Regions from separate parts of the Homo sapiens genome. Here region 2 is linked to region 1. The links are contacts of gene promoters, found by promoter capture Hi-C in human tissues and cell types (Jung and others, 2019). All regions are on one chromosome and are shown on one strand. The core of a region is centred on a gene start or on the middle of the fragment in contact, and the rest is flanking DNA. Distances in the headings are between cores, read along the strand shown. Region 1 holds the start of C7 (complement C7). Region 2 overlaps LOC105374739 (a long non-coding RNA gene).

Region 1 (7,615 bases), core at 3,177-5,676:
CAAATCATGAGGTCAGGAGATCAAGACCATCCTGACTAACACGGTAAAACCCCATCTCTACTAAAAATACAAAAAATTAACCAGGCATGTTGGCACGCACCTGTAGTCTCAGCTACTTGGGAGGCTGAGGCAGGAGAATCGCTTGAACCCAGGAGGTGGAGATTACAGTGAGCCGAGATCATGCCACTGCACTCCAGCCTGGGTGACAGAGCAAGACTCCATCTTAAAATATATAAATATACAAAATATACATATATATATATTTGCACATGGTGGCACATGCCCAGATAGTGCCAGCTACTCAGGAGGCTGAAGCAGGAGGATCACTTGAGCCCAGGAATTCAAAGGTGCAGTGAGCTATGATTGCACCATTACTCTCCAGCCTGGATAACAGAGCAAGACACCATCTCTCTTTAAAAATGTCAAAAAATAACAGTTGTTGGTAGGAATGCAGAGATAAGTGAGAATAGGGAATAGTATATATTCCCACCAATATATACTATTGGTGGGAATGTAAATTAGTACAACTTCCATAAAAAACAGTATGGAGATTTCTCAAAGAACTAAAAATTGAACTACCATCGGATCCATCAATCCCACTACTGGGTATCTACCCAAAGGAAAAGAAATCATTATATCAGAAAGATACCCGTACTCGTATGTTTATCTCAACACTATTCACAATAGCAAAGATATAGAAGCAACCTAAGTGTCCAACAACAGATGATTGGATAAAGAAAATGCAGTATATACACAATGAAATACTGTTCAATTTTTTAAAAAAGAATGAAACCATGTCTTTTGCAGCAGCATGGATGGAACTAGAGGCCATTATATTAAGTGAAACAACTTAGAAACATAAAATCAAGTACCTCATATTCTCACTTACAAGTAGGAGCTAAATAATGTGTACACATGGACAAAAAGTATGGAATAATAGACATTGGAGACTCAGAAGAGTTGGGGATAGAAAGGGGAAGAGTGATGAGAAATTACTTAATGGGTACAATGTACATTATTTGGAAGATAGATACACTGAAAGCCCAGACTTCAACACTACCCAATATATCCATGTAACAAAATTGCACTTGTACCCCTTAAATGTATACAAATAAAATAACTAAATGAATAAAATTTCCAAAAAAAACCATAAAATTTCAAAAAATCTTGAGTACTTGTTCTTGGCCTTTGACTCTCAGCCAAAATGTGGATAATGAAAATAATTATTTCTAACATTCTGTCACAGGTGTTTTAAAATAATTTCAGCCAGGTTTGGTGGCTCATGCCTGTAATCCTGGCATTTGGGGAGGACAAAGTGGTAGGATCACTTGAGCCCAGGAATTTGAGGCCAGCCTGTTGCAACAAAAAATACAAAAATTAGCCAGGCATGGTGGCGGGCACCTGTAGTCCCAGCTACTCAGAAGACTAAGGTGGGAGGATCACTTGAGCCCAGGATGTAGCAGCTGCAGTGAGCCATAATTGTACCACTACACTCCAGCCAGGGCAACAGAGCAAGATCTTGTCTCAAATTTAAAAGCATTTTTTAAAATAAAGAATTTCAATGAAATTTTAGGAAATATACTTTTTATCATCATGGATGCCTTTGTCATCACCTTCTTCATATACATACTCATTATAACCCATCAAGGTCTGCTTATTACAAGACCAGTTCTGTTCATGTTATACAAAGTGAATCTACTAACCAAAAGCATTTCTTGAAATTTGGCTAGCCTTAGGATAATTACCTTTGGAAAAAATACCTTATAAATGAACAAGAGAGATAGAACAAACACAAATAAATCATGTGAATGACAGTGATAGACATACATCTGAACTGACTCTATAAAAGAATTGCTTGGTTGAAGAAGTATGTGGGGCCGGGCGTGGTGGTTCATGCCTGTAATCCCAGCACTTTGGGAGGCCAAGGCAGGTGGATCATGAGGTCAGGAGTTCAAGACCAGCCTGGCCAATATGGTGAAACCCCATCTTTACTAAAAAAAAAAAAAAAATACAAAAATTAGCAAGGCATGGTGGCGCACGCCTGTAGCCCCAGCTACTCAGGAGGCTGAGGCAGAAGAATCGCTTGAACCCAGGAGGCGGAAGTTGGAGTGAGCAGAGATCGTACCTCTGCACTCCAGCCTGGGCAACAGAGTGAGACTTTGTCTCAAAAAAAAAAAAAAAAGAAAGAAAGAAAAAGTGTGTGGTATTTTTGTTCTGTGTCAATGTAGCTAAGCTGGAACTACATTCCCCTGAATTATCTTCTCCTCTTTATCATCAATGAATGAGCATTAGCTCTACCTCCTTCTTCCAGTATGTCCCAGCTACAATCCTGATTTGAGACATTACTGTGCTTGACCATCACTGTGCTTGGGCACTGTGACGACCATTCCCTAGATTCACAGGCCCCAAGCTCAGCTCTCTCCTGGAGGGACGGAACAAATGGCTGGGCCACAGCCAGCTCCGAGGGAAGTCCCTTGTCCCTGACATCCTTCTCCAACACCTCAGATCCAAGTTATTTCCTATCCAAGAACACAGAGAGAACCAAAGGGAATCCTGTGACTGTCTCTCTGAATTTAGTTCACGTGGGGGCTGTGGGGCCAAAACATTGCTTCCTCTTAAAAAGTCTGACATAGAAACCATTTCTAGCTTCTTGATAGCCCAAGGCTTTCACAAGTGTCCCTTCTTTGTCACATATCACCAAAGCATGTCCTTCAGGTTTACTGTAAAAATATGAATGTCCACTTTCAAATACAGGTAAGAACTCTACATGCGACTTGGAGTGAAATAATTGCTTTAGTGTTACAGTTGTTTTAGAACTTGTCTATCAGGCTTCCCAATTTTTGCTGGAAAGCCCCTATATGTAAAATTTTTAAAAAATTAATTGCTTTATTTGTTGATATTTTGTCAACTAATTAAAGGATAGAAGTATATTTATTATTACAGCAGTAAAATATTATAATAATGATTGTAAACATGTTTTTAAGCACAAAGCAATTATTAAGATTTCTTATTGTAAAATAAAGTAAAAGATTAATAGTTAACACAAATATTAGGAAAAAACATTTTGGCTAGATAACTTTCAGAAGAGCATCATTTTCTTTTCTTGTTTTTTTTTTGTTTTTTTTTTTTTTGAGAGAGAGTCTCACCTTATTGCCCAGGCTGGAGTGCAGTGTCTAGTGTTGCCATCTTTATGCCCATGAGTACCCAATATTTAGCTCCCACTTAAAAATTAAGAACATGGGGTATTTGATTGTCTGTTCCTGCGTTAATTTTCTTAGGATAATGACCTCTATCTGCCTCCATGTTGCTGCAAAGGACATGATTTCATTCTTTTTTATGACTGCCCATCATAACTTTAAACAAATTAACTTTGTTATTTGTGTTTAATTTTAATTATTTAATTTCACAGAAGGCATGGCTTAATCAAGATCCATATCTTGCTCCTCCTCTAACCCCAATAATGAGCGAGCTTGGATTCGGTGCCCCAATGGACAATACAGTGACTATGGAAGCAATCTAGCCACTGACAGATCTGTGAAATTATTCCTACAGTCTTACAATGCAACATTTTTAAAGTTTAAATACCAAAATTTACAATAATAAAATTTGAATAGCAATCTCAACTTATTTTTGCATTCCAGAGATTTAGTCTATGATAGCGATTTCTATCTTTGGTCTTATCTTTTGTTGAATAGCTTTTTGGTTGTGTTTTGTTTTGTTTTTTAATATTTGGCCTTTTTGCATTGGGCCAACATGTATACTTGGTAGACCTTTAGTTTTATTCCATCTACTCATATCTTCTATTCTCACAATGCTGACTCTTTCATCCAGGATTTCAAATTCTCAAGTTCCAAGCCTGCAAATTTGCTTTTCTATTAGCTCTTAGATAAATCGCAGGACCCTACTGCATGGCTCCTAATCCAAACAAGCAAAAAAAAAAAAAAAAAATACACCAGAGGAAAGTTTTTCCCAAGAAATAACAATAGTACTATTGTATTTCTTTATGACTTTATCGGGACTTTCATAAACATTGTCTCCAATTCCTGATTCCCAGACCTCTGGACCTATAATTTCACCACAAGATAAGAAAAAGGAATTCACTTTGGCTGAACTGTTAAATATGTTTAAATAAGGATTTCTAAACATCACCCCCAGGTCTTTTTCTTCTGTATTTTCCTCTGGCCTTCTATTTATTTGATGTCTTTCAGTTAGGTATTACACCTCTTCGTTTAAATTACATTTATATTACCCCCGTTCATTTGAAAAGATAGCTTCATTTACAAAAGTAATGAATTTATTGTCTTACCTTCATGTTTGGGAAAACATTCAGGGCAGAAGAGAGGAGGAAGATTTCCTCTGTAAGGGCCGGGTAAGTTTTCAACAGCAGGAAGAGCCCAGCAGGCTGCCTGCCTCTCTGCCTCTCCCTGCTCTAGATTATCTTGGCACTCATATATAGAGCAAGTGGTCCTGAGATTTAGCTCCTACCCCAACCGGATTCTCCAACGACAGCAAGAGCCTGACCTTGTACTTAATCTGTGCCTTGAAACCAGATGCATCTTATCAATTACACAGCCTTAGCTACAGCCAGCTGGGACTGTTTGGAAGTTATAGATATGTTTCTTAGAAACATATCTATAAATCAGGAAACACAGCAAATGTTCTCAGTTCAATGTTTAAGTGATTTTCAACCAAAGGAGACTCTGTAAGGCAAGGGATGAGCCTCCTTCTTGTTTCAATCTACTAAACTAAGTGGATGTTTTCATGATTCTCTTAAAAGGTGTTATATGCCAGACTTTGAGATTAAATATTTTATGAAAGAAAATATTTAAATGCAGTTCTGTCACTCAAAATCTAAATAGAATGTTCTGGAGTAGAATTTTTCCCCAAAGTACAGCCTAATACAACCCAATAGTCATCCCTTCATGCTTAACTTTCACAGAATAATCAGAAAGAATATCAATTTTTGTAAACATATTTGAGGACATCACTAATTTTCTCAAGAACTTCACTTAATCCTTTGATAATCAGATCACTGTGTTGGAAAGTTCTTCTCAGGGTCATTATCCACATCCATTTTCTCTCCTTTGCTTTTTATCTTGTCTTATTCTACCAGGTCTTTATTTTCCCATAGCTTTGCATTGATTCTAGCAAGTCCCCAACATCACCTTCATACATTTAATAAAATGCTGCTTATTTTGCAAGATTTTAGATTTCCTATTGAAACTGAGCTACAGTTGGCCAGGCGCGGTGGCTCATGCCTGTAATCCCAGCACTTTGGGAGGCCAAGGCGAGCGGACCAAGAGGTCAGGAGTTCGAGACCAGCCTGGACAATACAGTGAAACCCCGTCTCTACTAAAAACACAAAAAAATTAGCCAGGCATGGTAGCATGCACTTGTAGTCCCAGCTACTCAGGAGGCTGAGAGAGAAGAATCACTTGAACCCAGGAGGCGGAGGTTGCAGTGAGCTGAGATCGCACCACTGCACTCCAGCCTGGGAGACAGAGTGAGATTCCATCTCAAAAAAAAAAAAAAAAAAAAAATTGAGCTACAGTTTTATTTGTATTGTTGGACCAAATATTCTAACACTAGCTGCTAGTGCATTATGAGTGAGGTAGAATAAATGTTAAGCGGGAAAGAAAATTTGAGTTAAGAATAATTTTATAAGTAAACATTCCATTAGTGAAGATTTTCTAGCTTTAATGACTTTTTCTTCCTATATCCAAAGCACTGGAATAATAAAGACAACCCCTATCCTCCCCTCATAAATTAATGGTGGTTTCCAGAGACAAAGCTTCCGCATCTTTTGTTCAAAGCTTTAGTGATTTGTGTGGAAGAAATTTTGTCACAGAGACAAAGATCCTGACTCCTGAAAGAAATATTTTTTATTCAGCTCCAACTGCATAAATTCCAGATGCCATAGACTCATCTTAAATTCTCAATATACAATTCCATTTCAGCGGCTCTCTTAGTTTGGGTTCCCCCAGAAGTAGATTCAGAAACAAGAATTCAATTGCAAGTAGTTTGTTTTTGTTTTTGTTTTAAGAGATAATCTTAGAAAGCACCACTGGAAGTGGGAAAGTGAGATTGGGGAGAAAAGAAAGTCAATAAAGGGTGTTTTATCAAGCAAGAGACTCCAGTGGGCAATTTGAGTTCAGTTCTAATGAGGAACTCTGAAAGACATTGCACACGAACTCTGCAATTAAGAGTTAGTCCAGCCAGGTGTGGTGGTTCACACCTGTGATCCCAGCACTTTGGGAGGCTGAGGTGGGTGGATCACTTGAGGTCAGGAGTTCAAGACCAGCCTAGCCATGATGGTGAAGCCCCATCTCTACTAAAAATACAAAAAAAAAAAAAAGCCAGTTATGGTGGTTCATGCCTGTAATCCCAACTACTCAGGAGGCTGAGGCACGAGAATCACCGGAACCCAGGAGGCAGAGGCAGCAGTGAAGTGAGATTGCACCACTGAAGAGACTGCACTGCTGAAGAGCAGCCTGGGTGACAGAGCGAGAGCCTGTCCCCCAAAAAAAAAAAAAAAAAAAGAGTTAGTCCAATTAAGGGGTAAGGAAACCCATCGCTGATGATGAAGGTAGCTTCTGAACCCATTGGCTCTCTGGCACTACCAGCTTGCCCTGGGGGCAAGCTAAGCACACGCCTGCAGCCATAAGTAAAGGTTTTCAAGCAGGGAATTGTAGCATTTGCAATATTTGCAGGTGTTTACCTTTGTCATTTAGAGGCGAGCGATGAAGGAATATGGGTAGGGTACCAACAGCATCTGCTACAGTAGCTTTTTATTTATATATACATGCATGTATTAATTTTTTCATCCTGAATTTGATCAATATTTTCTAAAATGTGTAATATGATAGGCTATCAGCTTTGACAGGTAGAAGCCTTAAGCTATATCCTTCCTTATTTTTGTTCTTTACATGCTATAAAGGACCGTATTAGCCCATTTACAGAATATCCTTAATCTAGAGGATGATTTGGATATATTTATAGTAATTTAGAACTTGAATTGTTCAGCTCAGGTATCCCATAGATCATTCAATTCTGAAAGGGTTACAGAAACTTCCTTTCCCCAATTGCCTTGCACACTCCTACCTTCATATCTGTAACATCACAAGAGCATTTCTTCTGTCTGCAATTTTAATGGAGGAACCATTAGCACAAAGGCTTTAAATGCAGGTGGGAGCAACACTGTGGGAAGTTTTACTGCTAGCATAAGTTGTATGGACTTTATTCACACAATGAGTCACTGAGAATTCACCCACTGGAAGTTTTTAAGAAAGAATCAAAGCAGTGTTTTAGATTGATTGAAACAGTAGCTGTGTGCAGCCTACATAGAATAGGTAAGGAAAGGAAGCAGGAAGCGTGACTTGGAATTTATTTCAGTAGTTTAGACAAGGGGATCAAGGCCTCATTTAAAAAGGGATTGACACAGCTGTCTCTACAAAAAACACAAAAATTAGCTGGGCATGATGGCACATGCCTGTAGTCTCAACTACTCAGAAAGCTGAGGTGGCCCAGAAGGTTGAGGCTGCAGTGAGTTATGAGCAGGTCACTGCACTCCAGCCTGGGTGACAGAGCAATGCCTTGTTTCAAAAACAAAAACAAA
Region 2 (7,828 bases), core at 2,249-4,748, 180 kb before region 1:
TTCATTGCATCAAAAACTAATATGTTCCAAATAGCACAACTAAATTATTTAGATTGTATTGATGATTCAATTTGACAATGAGGGAGAAATTTTTTCACTCTTTACATAGAAATCAAATTAATAAAGTCCCAATTAAAATATATATATTTAAAGAGATTTAAGAGACATATTGGCCAGGTGCAGTGGCTCACGCCTGTAATCCCAGCACTTTGGGAGGCCGAGGTGGGTGGATCACGAGGTCAGGAGATCAAGACCATCCTGGCTAACACGGTGAAACCCCGTCTCTACTAAAAAATACAAAAAATTAGCCAGGCGTGGTGGTGGGCACCTGTAGTCTCAGCTACTCGGGAGGCTGAGGCAGGAGAATGGTGTGAACCCAGGAGGCAGAGCTTGCAGTGAGCTGAGATCACGCCACTGCACTCCAGCCTGGGCAACAGAGCGAGACTCCATCTCAAAAAAAAAAAAAAAAAAAAGGAGACATATCAACTAATTGCAATAGATGAGTCATAACTTGATCTTATTTAAACAAACTCTAAATATAATGATACTATGAGAAAATTGAGCTCTGACTAGGTCTTATTTTTTCTTGGCATACTCTTTTGAACCCTTACCTTTTAGGAAAAAAAATGTACAATATTTAGGAATGAATTATATAATATCTGGTATTTGCTTCAAAATAATACACGAATGAAGTAAATAGGGATAGAAATAAAACGTGATGAGCAATAACTTGATAATTATTAAAACTAGGATGTAAACATATACAATCATTCATTATACAATTATCTCTATTTTATATATGTCTGATAATTTTCATATTTTAAAAATAAAGTCCAATCTCAGTTAGACATTTGTCTCCCAAAGTCCTCAACCAGCAACCATCGAACTTTCTCATTTCACTGCATTTTTTTCCAAACTCCTATATTTTCCCAAATAATTCCGCTCTCACCTCACACTTATAATCCTCAAAAAGAAAAACAAAAGTCTTGTTACTAACCAGCCCCAGCCTGGAAAGAGCACATTAAAGATTATCATTAATAATTATGCTTAGAGCCTATCCCTTGATATCTTGCTTCTCACACTAAAACATATGTTTCATCAGCTAGCCTATGTGTGGTTCTCCTTGTATATCATTACACTAGGATTTTTTAAACAAAGAAAATGTGTTACCAAAAATTTTATTATCAAAACAGCATCAAAGTTATTGTGTGTGTGTATGCATGCACATACTCGCAGGTATACATGAATATATGCATCTGTACATCTTTGATCAAGAAGCCCAAAAGCTTAAATAAGAGTTGAAAAAATGAATACCTTTGAGAGCTTCTGAATTAAATAAAATGATAATTCAACATGGAGTAAAACTAATAAATTAGGACAATAATATAAAGTATAGTCTCTATTTGAATTTATCTTTTATAACCCAAACTAATTTTATCATCCTGCCTCTACTCTCATTCACTGTTCATGATTTACATATGGAAGACTGACTAACAGAAGAAAAATGTTATCAAACATGGGAAGTAAGTGGCTACTTCTGGCTCCCACAGATCTTTAGTCATAGTTCCAGATTTAGGCTTGTGGCAATCTTACGTATCCTTAAACGTTGGGAACATGACAGAATTATTATTCTAATAGATACCATAGATGCTCTATTTGAAAGATATTCACAGTCCTTTTCTTCCTTACCTTCCTCTTTTGAGAAGCATTGAAACTACTAAAATACATGGTTTCCCAACCTACACTGCAGTGAAGAGTGGCTATGTGACCAAGTTCTTACCAACAATATGTGAATGAAATTCACTGTGAATGTCTTCTCTTTCCAAATTGAAAATGTAAACTCCCACATGAAGAAAGTTTTGTATTTTACCTTCTTCCTGCCTGGAATGCAAACATGAGCTCTGGATATGTAGCAGTTATCTTGTAACTAAAGGTCAAATAACATGCTAAAGATAGTAAAAAAGAAAAAGAGCATAGATCCATAATACATTACTGAAGAGCTGTTTTAGCCCAGGCTACCTGTCTCCAGGTGAGCTTTGTACAAGAAAACAAAAACATTATAGATTTAGGCAACTGTTGAGTGCTTTCTGAGTTTGTTTTTTGTTTGGGGGTTCATTATTTGGGGTTTTGGTGGGAGGGGAAGGGAAACATATTCCCAACTTATACGCTACTATTCCTGGGAGCAAAATAGGTAGCAGAAGTTCATAAGACTAGAACAGCATAAATACATATAAGAATCTTGGCAGACTTCTGATGCTGACAAAGATAAAGTAACAGGAACTGAATTTACCCTTCCACTGAAACAACTGAAAAAAAAAAGCAACCCAGATTCTTATAGTCTAAGAAATATCAGCTTTCAGACACTGGACACCATTGATGCAGGAATTGATCTCTGAGAGAGGGAAAAACTATGAGGTTAGCCCCAATGATTGCCCAAGCTTACTTTCTGGAGAAAGTTTCTAAGTTTCAGCACAGGAAAGAGAAACCAGAAGGAGGCTGGAGGTATCCTTGAGTTGGAGAGATGGAGCTGGGAGTCTGGGAATGGCAAAGTGGATACAGTTTAAGTGGAAGAATACTGGACAGGAGAGAGGTGCATACAGAGAAAACTCTGAAGATCTCCAGAGTGTTCCCCTCTAGAATTCAGTTGAGTACCTACTAGGATATGCATATAAGGAAAACTGAAGCTGGGAAACAAACCATGCAAAAAGAAAAGAATCAATAATCTCCAAAGTTCACACAGGTTTAGGAATAACTCATATTTTCAACCAGCCAGAGTGGAAAGCTTTATATTTCATGGGACATCAGATATACTCAAAAGAATATACCAAATTAGCCTTATATTAAGATTGTCTGGTCCCTACATTTTACAAAACTTACAAGCAAGCTTCGAAAGGATCAAATTGTTTCAAAATAACAAGTGAATCACAGAACAAAGCTCAAGAGTATCTAACACCCAACAAAATAAAATTCACAATATCTACTATCTAATGGAGGGAAAGCATTCAAAAAAGCAGAAAATACAATCAACAATAATAAGAAAAAACAAATGGAAGCATATTAAGAAATGACACAGATGATAGAATTAATAGACAAGAACATTAAAACAGTCTTTATAACTCTATTACAGATACTAAAGAAGCTAGAGGAAAAATTGATCCAATTAGATAGAGACACAAAAGGTATATATAAGGTCTCCAAATAAAACTTCTAGAAATGAAAACAATTGTGTGAAATAAAAAATACAGGCCAGTCACAATGGCTCACACCTGTAATCCCAGCACTTTGGGAGGCCAAGACAGATGGATCACTTGATGTCAGGAGTTTGAGACCAGTCTGGCCAACATGGTGAAACCCCGCCGCTACTAAAAATATAAAAATTAGCCAGGCATGGTGGTGGGCGCCTGTAATCCCAGCTACTGGGGAGGCTGAGGCAGGAGAATCGCTTGAACCCAGGAGGTGTAGGCTGCAGTGAGATGAGATGGCACCCCCGCACCCCAGCCTGGGCAACAGAGTGAGACTCCATCTGAGGACAGAAAAACAAAAAATACACCAGGTGGTACATCAGTTTAGACAATGCTGAAAGAAATATTGGAGACAAAGCAATAGAAAATATCCAAAATAAAATACAAAAGGATGAAAAATTAACAGAGCATCAGCGAGTTATAAGTCAACTTCAAGTGGCCTACTATACGTATCACTGGAGTCCCTGATGAAGTGAAGCAGAAGAAAGAAGAGGAGATAAAAATAAAATTGGAAACATACTGGCTAAAATATTTCCAAATTTGATAAAAATTATAAATTAACATATTCAAGCAACTTACTAAACTTCAAACAAAAGAAACATGAAGAAAAGTACACCAAGCTGCAACATAACCAAATTGCTTAAAATAAGTGATAAAAAGAACCTTAAAACTCAGCTAGAACAAAAACTACACATTACATACATAACACTTTCTCTTAAAATTAGCCCTATGTTAAGATTGTTTGGTTCCAACATTTTACAAAGCTTACAAGCATTTTCTTAAAAGCAGAAATCATAATATTAAGACCTCAATGAGCAGAAAGTTGCTGGAATGATGTGGTCTCATTAGGCTGTTTTGGTATAATTATGTCAACAAGAGCAATAACAGCAAAAATGCCAGATAACAAATAATGCTAACTTGGTACAACATATTTTCTTTGCATTATTCACTTAATCTATACAACTAACAATCTTACAGATGATGTAACTAAGGCTCAGATGGATTAAATAATCTTACTGGTAAAAAAATCTCTAATATTAATGGATATATATCTACTTCCTCTTTTAGTAAGTACAAACTATGGAAATGAGTGCCAGGTTTATCTTTCTAAGCTTCTGTACTCATTTCTGTGCACTACAGAAGCAGATGAAGAGTTACATATATGAATACTAGCACCAGCAATGAAAGTTATGTTTTGTTTTAGATCTACTTTATTTTTTATTTGCTTCTTTTCCAGCAAATATTCCTATGATATTTGAACACTATTGGTAACCAGAAAATTTACTATTTGAAACTGTATCTAATATTTTACTATCACTTTTTGATTTAAATGTTTTTGAACAGTTTCACCTAACAAAGTATTTCTATAAAACTTAATGACCATTTCTAGGATTCTAAAGTCTCTAACTGTAACATGAGAATATTCACATTTTTATGGCACATCTAGAGGCCATTGAAACTACCAAAAGCAGGAATCAAAAGTATGTTTTTAATCCTATAAAAGTAAACAAAAGACAATGGGAACATGTTTATTTCTTTTTTAAAAAAGGAAAAAAAATTCAAAATGTAAGAGAATCATTCAGAGGCAATGAAATTGTATTTTAATCCTTAAAAATATAATACTAATAACTTTTTCTTCTAAGATTATTTACCTGGGCAATTATGAGATCCAAGTCATTCATTATAAGAAGTTGAGATAATGAAAGTATCCTCCTTTGAATTGTTTAGCTGCCATAAAAAGTGAGTTCTTCAGTTAAAAAAAAAAACAAAAAAAAAAACACGATGTCTCATGTCTCATTTCTCACTAACATGACTTACAGGTCCAGGAGCTGACACTTAAAATCTAGTCCTAAAAGTTCTGGCCAAGGTATAATGAGCTCCAAAAAGCAGAAGGCCCCAATTATCATGACGCCAAGCCACCAGGTAACGTCCTCAGAGGTAAAGGGCTCTGTTATTTCTCTCACTACCCCAAATTATAAAGATAGGCTGTTCTTTTCTCAGCAACTGTCAGTAGCAAAGCTAGATATGCCTAATAAAAGAGGCTCTGAGAAATACCATACTAGTAAATTACTTATCCACAGGGAATTTAATTTTCTATCACTTGAGAGTGAAATCATTTTTTAAATCATTTGCAAATTCTAGAGGGATTAATTTTTTTTTTTTCTTTTGAGACAGGGTCTCGCTCTGTCTCCCTGGCTGAAGTGCAGTGATGCAATCACAGCTCACTGCAGCTTCTCTCCTGGACTCAAGTAATCTCCCCAACCCCCGCCCCCCACCCCACCCCGCGCTTGGTCTCAACCTCCTGAGTAGTTGGGATGACAGGCACGCACCACCATGGTGGGTGGGCTACTTTTTTTTAATTATTTTTTGTCGAGACGGGGTTTCACCATGTTACCCAGGCTAGTCTCAAACTCCTGGGCTCAAGTGATCCTCCAACCGAGGCTCCCCAAAGTGCTCAAATTACAGGTATGAGTCACCATGCCTGGCCAAGATTATATTCTTAAGCTCTTTCTAAATTCCTAAAGGGATAACTTTCAAACCATTCTCTCAATTTTAAAGTGCAGCATGCTTGATGACATACAGAAAAGTAGCTATTGTTTACACTTTCATATTAGCAATTTATAGCTTATATCTCTCGAGGATTTTTAATCAAGAAACATTAACCAAAGCTTGGTCATTGTATTAAGCTTTGAGGTGTATTATCCTGCCTTACCTTATTGTCCACAGCAATGGCTGCTGTGCATTCAGTCCTTAGAGAGTTCTCTAACCTCCTGTCCCTACATCACTGGCTGCTGCTGTCATTGCAAGGGAAAAGGAAATCTTCATACTGGGTTTATATGGGGAAAGGTGTAAGAAATTCCTTATTCACATAAGATTTGTTTTAGTCCATTTTGTGATGCTATAACAGAATGCCACAGACTGGGTAATTTATAAACAATATATACTTACTTCTTAATATCCTGGACGCCTAGTTTAATACCAAAGTACGAGAATCTGGTGAGCCTTCTTGCTGTATCATCCCATGGCAGGAAATAAAAGATCAAAAGAGCACACACATTCAAGAAAGATGAGAGGGGTTGGGAAAAGGGGAACAAACTCATCCTTTTCTTAGGAACCCACTCCCTTGGTAACCACATTAATCCATTCATGAGGTCAGAGACCTCATGACCTAGCTAATCACGTCTTAAAAGTCCCATCTCACAACACTGTTGCATTGGGATTAAATTTCCAACACATAAACTTTGAGAGATGTATTCAAACCATGCATAGCAAGGTTCCAATATTTTAAAGTTATAATTTTGCTGCTTTAGAATTAGAAAGAGCATTGCAAATGTTTTTAGTGGTACAAAGAATGTGAAAACAAAGTTGCTTGGCAGAGGAAATGATCCTTAGGTCAACTAACCTTATCTCCTCTTTTTTCAGGTATCAGTCCAGGGACTGGTGTATTTGTCTGTTCTCACACTGCAAATAAAGACATACCTGAGACTGGGTCATCTATGAAGAAAAGAGGTTTGATTGACTCACAGTTCCATGTGGCTGGGGAGGCCTGACAATCACAGCAGAAGGAGAAGGAGGAGCAAAGTCACATCTTACATGGTGGCAGGCAAGAGAGGATGTGCAGGGGAACTTCCCTTTATAAAACTGTCAGATCTCATGAGACTTATTCACTATCACAAGAACAGCACAGGAAAGACCCACCCCCATGATTCAATTACCTCTCGCTGGGTGCCTCTCACAACACATGGAAATTATGCAAGCTACAATTTAAAATGAGATTTTAGTGGGGCCACAGCCAAACCATATCAACTGGGTTGATTTTCCCACAGTAATAAAACTAGTTTGAAGCAGAATCTAAAGGTAATTCAAGTTTCTGAACTTGAAGTCTCATACTGTTTCTCCTCTTCTTTTTTTATTTCAGATATGAAGCCTGCTCTATTAAAAGGATGTTGAATATATATTTTATCATAGTAACAGCTGAACACTATATATTTACAATAAAAAGCAATTGAAAACAATAACAGTCTAAATCTTGGTAAATCACAAGTTGAGAATCAAATCAAGAACTCAATTCCTTTTACAAAACAAAAAGAAAGAAAAAACCACCTTAGAATATACTTAACCAAGGATGTAAAATATCTCTACAAGGATAACTACAAAACACTGCTGAAAGAAATAGATGACACAAACAAATAAAAATCCATCCCATACTCATGGGTTACAAGAATCAGTATCATGAAAAGGTACATACTTCCCAAAGCAATCTACAGATTCAGTGCAATTCCTTATCAAAACACCAACATCATTTTCCACAGAATTAGGAAAAAAATCATAAAATTCATATGGAGCCAAAAAAGAACCCAAATAGCCAAGGCAATTCTAACCAAAAAGAACAAATCTAGAGGCATCACATTACCTGATTTCAAATTATACTACAAGGTTATAGTATCAAAACAGCATGGTACTTGTATAAAAGCAGATGCATAGACTAATGGAAGAGAATAGAGAAGCCAGAAATAAAGCCAAATACTTACCAACAACTGATCTACAGGCATACGAAAACATAAATTGGGGAAAGGACATCTTGT

The links. Contacts are between HindIII fragments. The study calls those that stand out against the background at their distance.
Region 2: a fragment that was not itself captured here is called in contact with the fragment with the promoter of C7 in region 1 in 2 of the 25 tissues and cell types used here (H1 embryonic stem cells and IMR-90 fibroblasts).

What each region holds. Positions count from the first base shown.
Region 1 is chr5:40,906,308-40,913,922 of GRCh38, reverse strand. C7 (complement C7) reads right to left here and starts at 4,426. Exons shown (of 18, transcript NM_000587.4): 1 at 4,307-4,426. The coding sequence starts at 4,312. It also overlaps the pseudogene RNU7-161P. The HindIII fragment of the contact is 9,186 bases long and covers 1-7,615 here.
Region 2 is chr5:41,081,397-41,089,224 of GRCh38, reverse strand. It overlaps LOC105374739 (a long non-coding RNA gene), which reads right to left. Exons shown (of 6, transcript XR_001742650.2): 2 at 6,646-6,704; 3 at 6,192-6,252. Among named protein-coding and RNA genes, the nearest start is that of MROH2B, 14 kb to the right of the region's middle. The HindIII fragment of the contact is 3,271 bases long and covers 1,863-5,133 here.